2 separate regions of the Homo sapiens genome follow, and region 2 is linked to region 1. Evidence: promoter capture Hi-C in 16 types of primary human blood cells and fetal thymus (Javierre and others, 2016). All regions are on one chromosome and are shown on one strand. Each heading gives the region's core, a stretch centred on a gene start or on the middle of the fragment in contact. The rest is flanking DNA. Distances are from core to core; before and after follow the strand shown. Region 1 holds the start of UBE2D1 (ubiquitin conjugating enzyme E2 D1). Region 2 holds the start of LOC124902546 (a long non-coding RNA gene).

The links. The method cuts DNA at HindIII sites, captures the fragments that hold promoters and counts their contacts. A CHiCAGO score of 5 or more calls a contact.
Region 2: a contact is called between a fragment that was not itself captured here and the fragment with the promoter of UBE2D1 in region 1, in 1 of 17 cell types (non-activated CD4 T cells). The highest score is 9.8, in non-activated CD4 T cells.

What each region holds. Positions count from the first base shown.
Region 1 is chr10:58,332,366-58,336,980 of GRCh38, forward strand. UBE2D1 (ubiquitin conjugating enzyme E2 D1) reads left to right here and starts at 2,641. Exons shown (of 7, transcript NM_003338.5): 1 at 2,641-2,860. The coding sequence starts at 2,837. RefSeq lists enhancers at 2,305-2,805, 2,404-2,698 and a silencer at 2,506-3,025. The HindIII fragment of the contact is 6,404 bases long and covers 1,212-4,615 here.
Region 2 is chr10:56,360,679-56,365,293 of GRCh38, forward strand. LOC124902546 (a long non-coding RNA gene) reads left to right here and starts at 781. Exons shown (of 2, transcript XR_007062372.1): 1 at 781-1,178; 2 at 3,347-4,041. ZWINT (ZW10 interacting kinetochore protein) reads right to left here and starts at 581. Exons shown (of 9, transcript NM_007057.4): 1 at 518-581. The coding sequence starts at 558. RefSeq lists enhancers at 291-1,030, 379-548 and a silencer at 639-848. The HindIII fragment of the contact is 811 bases long and covers 1,959-2,769 here.

The DNA of each region.
Region 1 (4,615 bases), core at 1,391-3,890:
AACCATTGGACTTAGTTGTATTTCCTTGCTTGGCCTCCATGTTGAGCATTTCATACTTATGTCCATTCCACATGCATTTCCTTACGATTGGAAGTTCTTCACCTATTCTTTTGCTTTTCCAAATGCGTCTTGCATTCAAGTTCTATTGTCTCTACAAAGTTTCCCTTACTCTCCGTCCATGGCAATGCCCTTTTGAACATCTTTAGCCCTTATCCTCTGCACCATTTGTTTTGCTTTAAGGAAATTTTCCTGAAATTTGTTGTTGCTGTTGTCTGCATGACTGACTGACTGACTGAATGAATGAATATCTTGCATTGCTACTTATTTGTTTTATGCATTTATCTTCCTACCATGAAGATTTTAAGTTTATGGAAGGTAAGACCAAATATAATCTTTCTTTTGCATATATTTTACCACCTAGTGCAGTATAATATCCCAAACAGAGATAATTCAGAGGGCAAGGATTATTTATTGACAGTGTGGCCTGATGCCTAGAAATCTGCATTTTTAACAAGTCTTGTACCCTCCTCCCCACCCCATAGGATTTTGATGTTCTGCTTGTGAGTAGGGATCTTGTCTATTTTCTTTATCATGTGTCTTCAGTGCCTGGCATATAGTAAGCATTAAGTAACATTTTTGAATTAGTTATGCAGTTGATCACAAACTATGTTTTGAAACTACATCCTGGGAGAAAGAGTAGGAGATTAAATAACACACTGAACTACTATATGTTGCACATGTATTTGCATGTTGCAAAAATGTGTGTGAAATGTTTTGAAAAGCTTAAAGCAATTTTTTTTTTTTGAGATGGAGTCTCACTCTGTCACCCAGGCGGGAGTGCAATGGCTCCATCTCGGCTCAGTAAAACTGCTGCCTCCCAGGTTCTAGCGATTTTCCTGCCTCAGCCTCCCAAGTAGCTAGGATTACAGACATGTGCCAACACGCCTGGCTAATTTTTGAATTTTTGGTAGAGAAGGAGTTTCACCATGTTGACCAGGCTGGTCTCGAACTTCTGACCTCAGGTGATCCACCTGCCTTGGCCTCCAAAAGTGCTGGAATTACACGCGTGAGCCACTGTGCCCAGCCCATTTAAAGCAATCTTAAAGTGTAAACTATTATTGCAAGATACCAACGTAGATTTTTTTAATAAGTGTTAATTTCTCTTTTGTTGGGAGGTAAACTGCCCTAGGAAAGACAAAAATAATCTTGTAAGCTTACTTTTTAGGTTTCTTTCTATTTATAAAGAAGAGAAAAAAATCACCATTTTTTGTGCAAATCATAGACCTTTGAGTTAGAAGGGCACCAAAAGTTTCAGCTCTATTCCCTTTAAACAAATACAACATTTATTGCATTAGTTATGGGTGAGGAAATTGAGGCTTAGAAGGATTTGAAGATTTGCTCAAGGTGGAGATTCTCAAAAGTGTCCTCAGATACCTGCATCCTAACTTCCTGGGAAGTTTGTTCTAAAGTTTAGACTCCAGAGCTTCACCCAAAACTTACTGCTAAATTAAATCCTTTAAAGGAAATCTGCATTTTTAGGATCTCCTCTTATGCCTTCCAGCATAGTGCTTCTCAAACCCTAATGTTCATCTGAATCACCTAGGAGTCTTATTAAACTGCAAAGTGTGATGTAGCATGTCTGGAGTGGGGCTCAAGATTCTGTTTTTGTTTGTTTGTTTTTGTTTTTCAACTTTTATTTTAGATTTAGAGGCCACATATGCAAGTTTGCTACCTGGGTATGCTGTGTGATGCTGACATTTGTGGTATGAATGATTTTATCACCCAGGTACTGACAATAGTACCCAACAGTTTTTCAACCTTTGCTCCCTCGGTCCCCTCTCTAGTAGTCCACAGTGTCTATTTGTTGCCATCTTTATATCCCTGAGTGATATGGTTTGGCTGTGTCCCCACCCAAATCTCATCTTGGCCAAGAAGCCAAGTTTTAATGGGTACACAAGTGCATAGGAATTGGAGAGTGGGGAGCGTGAGTTGACTATTGGTCAGGGACTGTCAACGGAAGGGAAGGAACCAATGATGGGAGTGAGAGCCCAGAACTCGGTGTTCGAAGTGGGTAATTTATGGGAGGGGCATACCTACGAGCAGACAATGCACTCAGACAAGGAAGATTTGCACATTGGACAGAAGAGACACCTTTTTCCTCTGCAATAAGAACCAAGGAGGTAAGTAGGGGGTCTGATATGAGTTTGTGCATGTGTGCAGGGTGAGTGAGACAATCCATATATTTGAGAAAAGACAGTGAAATCTTTAAAGGTAAAAATAATAAAACCAGCTGTGGCACCTATTGGATAAGGAATTACTAACTGATGATTTAGAAATTCCTTTATGTGCGTTAGGAGCTCATTTGTTATCCCCATTTTACAGATGCGCAGCCCCAGGTTCAGCAATTTGCTCTAAATGAGACTGTAGAGGCTAATTCCAGCCCCCGGCAGCTCTCACCTTAAGCTGCCTGGCTGAGGTCAGCAGTAAGTTACCTGGCAGCGTCCGGGGGCCTGCAGCCGAGGACAGGGCTGGAACTACACTTCCCAGTGTGCCAGGCGGGGCGGGGCGCGGCGGGGAGGGCGCAGGCTCCTTCCCAGAAGCAAAAGCGGAAACAAAAGAGTCTCGCCGGCGTCCCCGCCCGCACACTCGCGCACACTCGCGCTCGGGCGCACACGGAGCAGGGACCGGCGCCCGGAGCGAGCCAGGGAGCGGCTAACCGGGGACCCACCGCGCGGAGCCAGCCTAGCTGCCAGCGAGCCCAACCCGCGACGACCCACGCCCCTGAGCCCCGCAGCCGACCCCTGCCGGCCGGTGTCCCCACCGCCATCCCTGACCCATGGCGCTGAAGAGGATTCAGAAAGTGAGTGCCGGGGCCGGGCCTGGGGCTGCGGGGCAGCGGCCCCCTGCCCACGCTGACTCGGCCAGTGGTCCCGAGAGACATGCGGGGAGAGCAAGGGATGGAAGGGTGGGCCGGGGTGCGGGCAGGGAGCTGAAGGCTCGGGCCGGGCCAGCGGGCATCGGACAGGTGAGGTGGGAGCAGGGTCAGGTCCCAGGCGGCCGGAGGAGCTTGAAGGCTGGGGGCCCGCGCGCGTTCGCGCCGGAGCCGCTCCCGGAGCCCCAGGGTAGAGAGCCTCTTGCGCGTCCAGACCGTCCCGAAATCTGTGCTTCACGGTCACGGCCGGGTTTTGCCCTCCATGGGGCTAGTTTTGACCCCTGTCATGCTGTGTTTTCTCCAGGCTGTTTCTTAAGCCTGTCCTCTTTTATGTTCTTGCTTACCCGGCCTCCCCGGGAGGGCAAGGAAGGTGGGGTGGGCCTGCAGCCTTTCTCCGCGGAGCTGTCGGGTTGGTTCTTTCTCTCCTCTGCGGTTGGCTCTTGCTCAGTTGCCCGAATGGGCTGGAAAGCCCATTTGCGGCCAAGAAGTCAGGAGAAGGCTCCTGCCCCTTCTATTTTGGTGCCTCTGCTGCTGCCACTTCAGGTCACATAGCTGTAGCGAAAACATAGTTGCTGATACACAACAAGATGACCTCCTGGCTGTGATTCACGGTGAGTCAAGCCAAACAGGTTTTTTTCCCCCTCATGATAAACTTAGATGTAAAGTTCGAGACACAACATAAACTGTCGCAAATAAATTGTTTTGATGCTTTGACACATGGGTATAGAATGAGGAAGAAATATATATCTTCATCCAACAACTGTTTACCCATCTCAACCCTGTGTATGGAATCGTCTTTTTTTCACAGTATTTATTGCCACCATTTCAGATGCGAACATCCTTCAGAATTCAGATTCGGGCATTTCTTTCTGTTCATTTTTATTTCTTGTTGGTCTGTGTACTGACCCAAGTTTTAGGTTTTACAGTTACAGTTCACACTGGCAACATTGAGAATGTGTTTGTTAAATAGGGAGTGCTTTTCACTAAGTTAAGCAACAATGGACAGTGTATTTTGTAGTTGTTTCAGAAGAAATTGATGCCCACATTTTTATCCACTTTTTTGACCAGGAGTCCATTATAGCAATAGTATATGTTAGAGCAGTGATAGTGACGTACGCATTGCATTCTGACTCGCCACTGGTGACATCTTTAGGTACAGAGGACAGCAACTTTTAGAGCCTGCCAGTTTTTTATTTTCAAATTCTAAATCTGTGGATCACCTGTTATTTTTTGTGCCATTTAAAGGTCATCTCATTGTAAAACATACAGTTAACAATCAGCATCAGCATTTATTAAGTAATAATGTTTTCTTGTTTGAAGGTAGCGCAATTACACATTGTTTTATATAAATACCCTAATTTTGAAGCCTTAGCATCTTTACCATACCTTGCATACTTATTAATGACGAAGTAATATTGGTTCACATTTGGATCAGAAAATGCACATCTTCCAAGGAAGTTTTCAAATTCTATTTCCTTCTTTCCTAGTTGTGAGAATTTTTCACATGATTTTGCACATACAAGAGCTTTTTAAATTTCATTGTGTTTTTTTAAGAGATGGGGATCTCACTATATTGCCCATGCTGATCTTGAACTCCTGGCCTCCAGAAAGTCTGGGATTACAGACACAAGTCACCATACCCAACTAACAATAGCTTAAGCTGTATAATTTGTCCACAGTAAG
Region 2 (4,615 bases), core at 1,114-3,613, 2.0 Mb before region 1:
TCATTTGAGTCAAGATGTGAAGGAAGCCAGGGAGATATGCAAGGAAGGGGAAGAATGCTGGGCCTTGGGATCCCTCCTGGCGCTGAGCACCAGCCTTGGGGCAGAGTCTTGGAATAGCTGAGAAAGGACTCAGGGCAGAGGGCTGGATGCCTCGGTCTACTCTAGGGTTTTTCATTATTAGGGACTGGAGCAATCTACGAAGGGGCAGGGATGGGGATGAGAAGTGACTGGGAATGTGTCGTGTTGGGACAAGAAGACAGAAGTGAAACCGTCTCCTAGAGCACATCCTGTGGATTATGTGGATGTGGGGAGCGGCGAACGGTCCCCCAAAGGCTGTACTCCTGGAGCAGGCAACAGACACCTCAGGAACCTAAGACGGGACTGCGGTGAGGATCACTTCACGGCAGGGTCGAACCTCAACAGCTGTACAGGGTCGAGGGCACCAATCATTACACATAGGGGCCCACAAGGTCCTCCCAGGCCCGGCCCCAGCTGCCACTTAGCCGCAAACACTTACTCTAGGGCTGCAGCTTCCGCCTCTGTCTCCGCTGCCTCCATCTTTCCAGGCGCCGAGTTCAGCTGCCTTCCCACAATCCCTAAGATTACTTTGAAGTCACAGTCGACTTCGCGCCGGGGCAGGCGATTGGCTGCAGAGGTTAGTGGGCGGGCATCAAGGACCATTGTGCGCTCTAATTGGCAGGCGCGGATTCGCTCGTTGGCGGGCCTCGCTGCTTGGCGCAAGCGCGGTTATGGCTAGGCGCGCACGGGCTCTGCGCCTGCGCGCTAGTCCTTACGCGGTGCCAGAGACTATAAGTGGGCTTGAGCTCGACCGCGCGCCTGTGGAAGTTCTTTCTCTACTCGAAAAAGGGAAAGCATTTCCTTGAGTTTGCGTTTTAAGGGAAACTTACAGCATTGACACTTTATTTAAAATATTCACTACTGCTGTAGAAAAAAAAAAACAAAACCCCGAAAAACAGTGGGGCTGTTTCTAAGACGCTGGGAATCAGTAAAGAATAGTGATCCGGGAGATACAGGAAGCAAATGATCTGCGCTCAAAAAGCGAGCTGCTTTCAAAGATATTAGTATTTTATAGATGCGATGCAGGAGAGTGAACTCAAGCAGAGCCCAGCCGATTGCCTGCGTTGGCAAAATAGAACAGATATTCTGGGGAGACCAAGGTAGGTAATGTTCTTTGCAGAGTACAGGAGAAAGATAACTGCTGAGAGAGAACTTGGTATTCATTCAGCTGAGTACTGAGCAGTATGTGTCTCAAGAAACTAGCTAAAAGATTTTTAAAGATACCAGGACATGGCCGGTCGCGGTGGCTCACGTCTGTAATCCCAGCACTTTGTGAGTCTGAGGCAGGTGAATTACGAGGTCAGGAGTTTGAGACCAGCCTGGCCAACATGGTGAAACCCCCGTCTCTACTAAAAGTACAAAAAAAATTAGTTGGGCGTGGTGGTGGGCGCTTGTAATCCCAGCTATTCGGGAGGCTGAGGCAGGAGAATTGCTTGAACCAGGGAGGCTGAGGTTGCAGTTAGCCGAAATTGCGCCACAGCACTACAGCCCTGGTGACAGTGCGAGACTCCGTCTCACAAAAAAAAAAAAATACATATATATATATATATAAATATATATATATGGACATTACAGAGGGTCAGAAATAGTCTCTATTTCCACTAACCAGGCTGGAAAACTTCATAGTCCGTAGGACACTGGACAGAGTACACACAAAAAAGTCTTGATTTGATAGTTGTTTACTAATTATTTAGTAGGCAGTAATTAGTCCTAGCTGATCAGTGCTGTAGTGCCATCTAACTCTTAAAAGTAAGACCCAAATGGATCAAACTTAACAAACCATGACAGATGACAAGACCAAACTTCAGCAGTATTTATAGAAATAGAAAAATGTTCACCAAAGGTGCAATTTACATATGTCATACAAAGAAAAATTACCAAGCTTGCAAAAAGAAAAAAAAAAACACATAATGAGGAGAAAAATCAATTGCTGATCAGAACTGAAGTAATGTTAGAATCAACAGGCAAGGACATTAAAACAGTTATTGTAACTATATCCCATATCTTCAAAAAGATATCAGAACTATAATGAAAAAGGTAAGTGGTGCTAAGGATGTAAAGAAAGTGGAATTCTCATGTTGATGGAAATGTAAACTGGTGCATAGGCTTTGAACGTAGGGTTACCATATGAGTCACAATTTCATTCCTAGTTATATATCCAAGACAAATAAAAACATGGGGACACAAAAGTACACAAACCTCTATAGCAGCATTATTCACAAAAGCTGAAAGGTAAAAACAACCCAAAGGCCCATTAGCTGGTGAGTGAAAATGCATACTTTCATTCAATGAAGTATTAATCAGTAGTAAAGAGAACTTTATTACATGCTAAATAATGGTTACTACATGCTAAAATATGAACCTTGAAAATATACTAAGTGAAAGAAGCTAATTACAAAAGACCACATAATATATTATTTCATTTATGTGAAATGTCTAGATTTGACAAATCTATAGCAACAGAAAGTAAATTTATATAGTGCTTGTCCAGGGCTGGGGATTGGTGGGAATGAGAGGTTGAGAGAGTATGGGGAGGGACTGCAAATGGATATAGTGTTTCTTTTAAAGGGATAAATAAAATGTTCTACACTTCGGTTATGGTGAAGGTTGTACAATTCTATACAGAAAACCGCTAAATTTACACTTTACTGCTGTCATAAAAGCTGTTAAAAAAGTTAATCAAAGACACAAAGCTTGTAATAAAGACCTAAATCAAACTTGTAGAGGTGAACACTACAATGTGATAGATGGAATTAGATGGTATTAATATAGTATGTTACACATTGCAGAATGAAAGTGAAACACAGCTCTAGAGAAACTACCCAAAATCAATCACAACATTAAAAAATGAAAATAAAGTAACATGAACAAATCAATGGTGAGCTGTGAGACAACTTCTAACAGCCTAATAATATACTTGAAAGTGGAGTCTCAGAGAGGCAAGGGGAGAGGACAAGAAAACAAGTAATAAAGACCAAAAAATTTGAAATGTGATGAAAAATATAAATTCATATATTCAAGAAGCTTCACAAATCTCAAACACAAGAAATATTAAGAAAATGACATCAAGTTATACCATAATTGCATAACTCAAAACCATTGATAAAAAATTCTAAAGTAATAAGGGGTGTTGGGGCACATGTTACATAGAAACAAAGATAAGGATTACGGGAAATTTCTTCTTGGAACAATGCAAGCAAGACAGTAGAGTAACATCTTTCAAGTACTGTAAGAATAAAAAAAAGTCAACCTTGATTTCTGTTTCCAGCAAACAGCTTTCAAAAATGAAGACTAACTAGGCTGGATGCAGTGGCTCACACCTATAATCCCAGCACTTTGGAAGGCCGAGGTGGGCAGATCACGAGGTCAGGAGATCAAGACCATCCTGGCTAACACAGTGAAATCCCCCGTCTCCACTAGAAATACAAAAATTAGCCAGGCGTGGTGGCGGGCACCTGTAGTCCCAGCTACTCGGGAGGCTGAGGCGGGAGAATGGCATGAGCCTGGGAGGTGGAGGTTGCAGTGAGCCAAGATCGTGCCACTGCACTCCAGCCTGGGTGACAGAGCAAGACTGTCTCAAAAAATAAATAAAAATAAAAAAGAAGGCTAACTAAAGACATTCTTAAACACACAAAAATGGAAGGAAATTTTCAGCATAAGATCCCACATGAAACAAGAAGTTCTTCAGGCAGAATGAAAATGGCATTAGCTTCAAATCTGAATGTATACAAAGGAGTGAAATGTGGTCCTGGCTACTTAGGAGTCTGAGGTGGGAAGATCACTTGAGCCCAGTTCAAAGCTGTGATGAGTTGGTCATGCCATTGCACTTCAGCCTGGGTAACAAAGTGAGACCCTATCTTTAAAGGAAAAAAAATTGTGATGTGGGTTTTATAACATATGTAAAAGTAAAATGTAGCACAAAGTGTGGGAGAGAAGAAATAAAAGTAAATTTATATGCTTGTATAGTTTCTCTGAAGTTTTGTTATCAGTTGAAGGTGAACTGATGAGTTAAAACTGTGTTCTAGACTCTCTGAAGCAATAGTGCCAACACACTTTAGAAGGGCTACCAGTGAGTCATTTCCTTGTGTGATTTCTTTCTTTCTAGTGCAGATAGAAATTGTGACCAATAGAATACAATAAAGGTGATGGGATGTCATTCTATTGATTAGGTTGCTTGTTAGGCAGAGGGGATAGCATGCCACTCTCATGCCTCCATTTCCATGTATAGCAGAAGCTTAGCAGACTGCACAAAAAAAAGAGGGATTCTCCTTCTGGCCTGGAAGAAGCATACAACCATGTTGTAAGTTGCCTGTGGTAGTTATCACATGGCAAGGAACTCTGAGTGGCCTTTAGGACCTGTAAATAGACCTGAGCTGATAGCCAATGAATAGATGGGGCCCTCAGTCAAACAGCCCTGAGGGGATTAAGTTTCTACAAATAATCAAATAAAAAATAACGCTACTCAGTTAACATCGTGATTGAAAACTTGTGAGACCTTGAGCAGAATGCAAAACCTTGACCCAGTGAAACTGTCTTA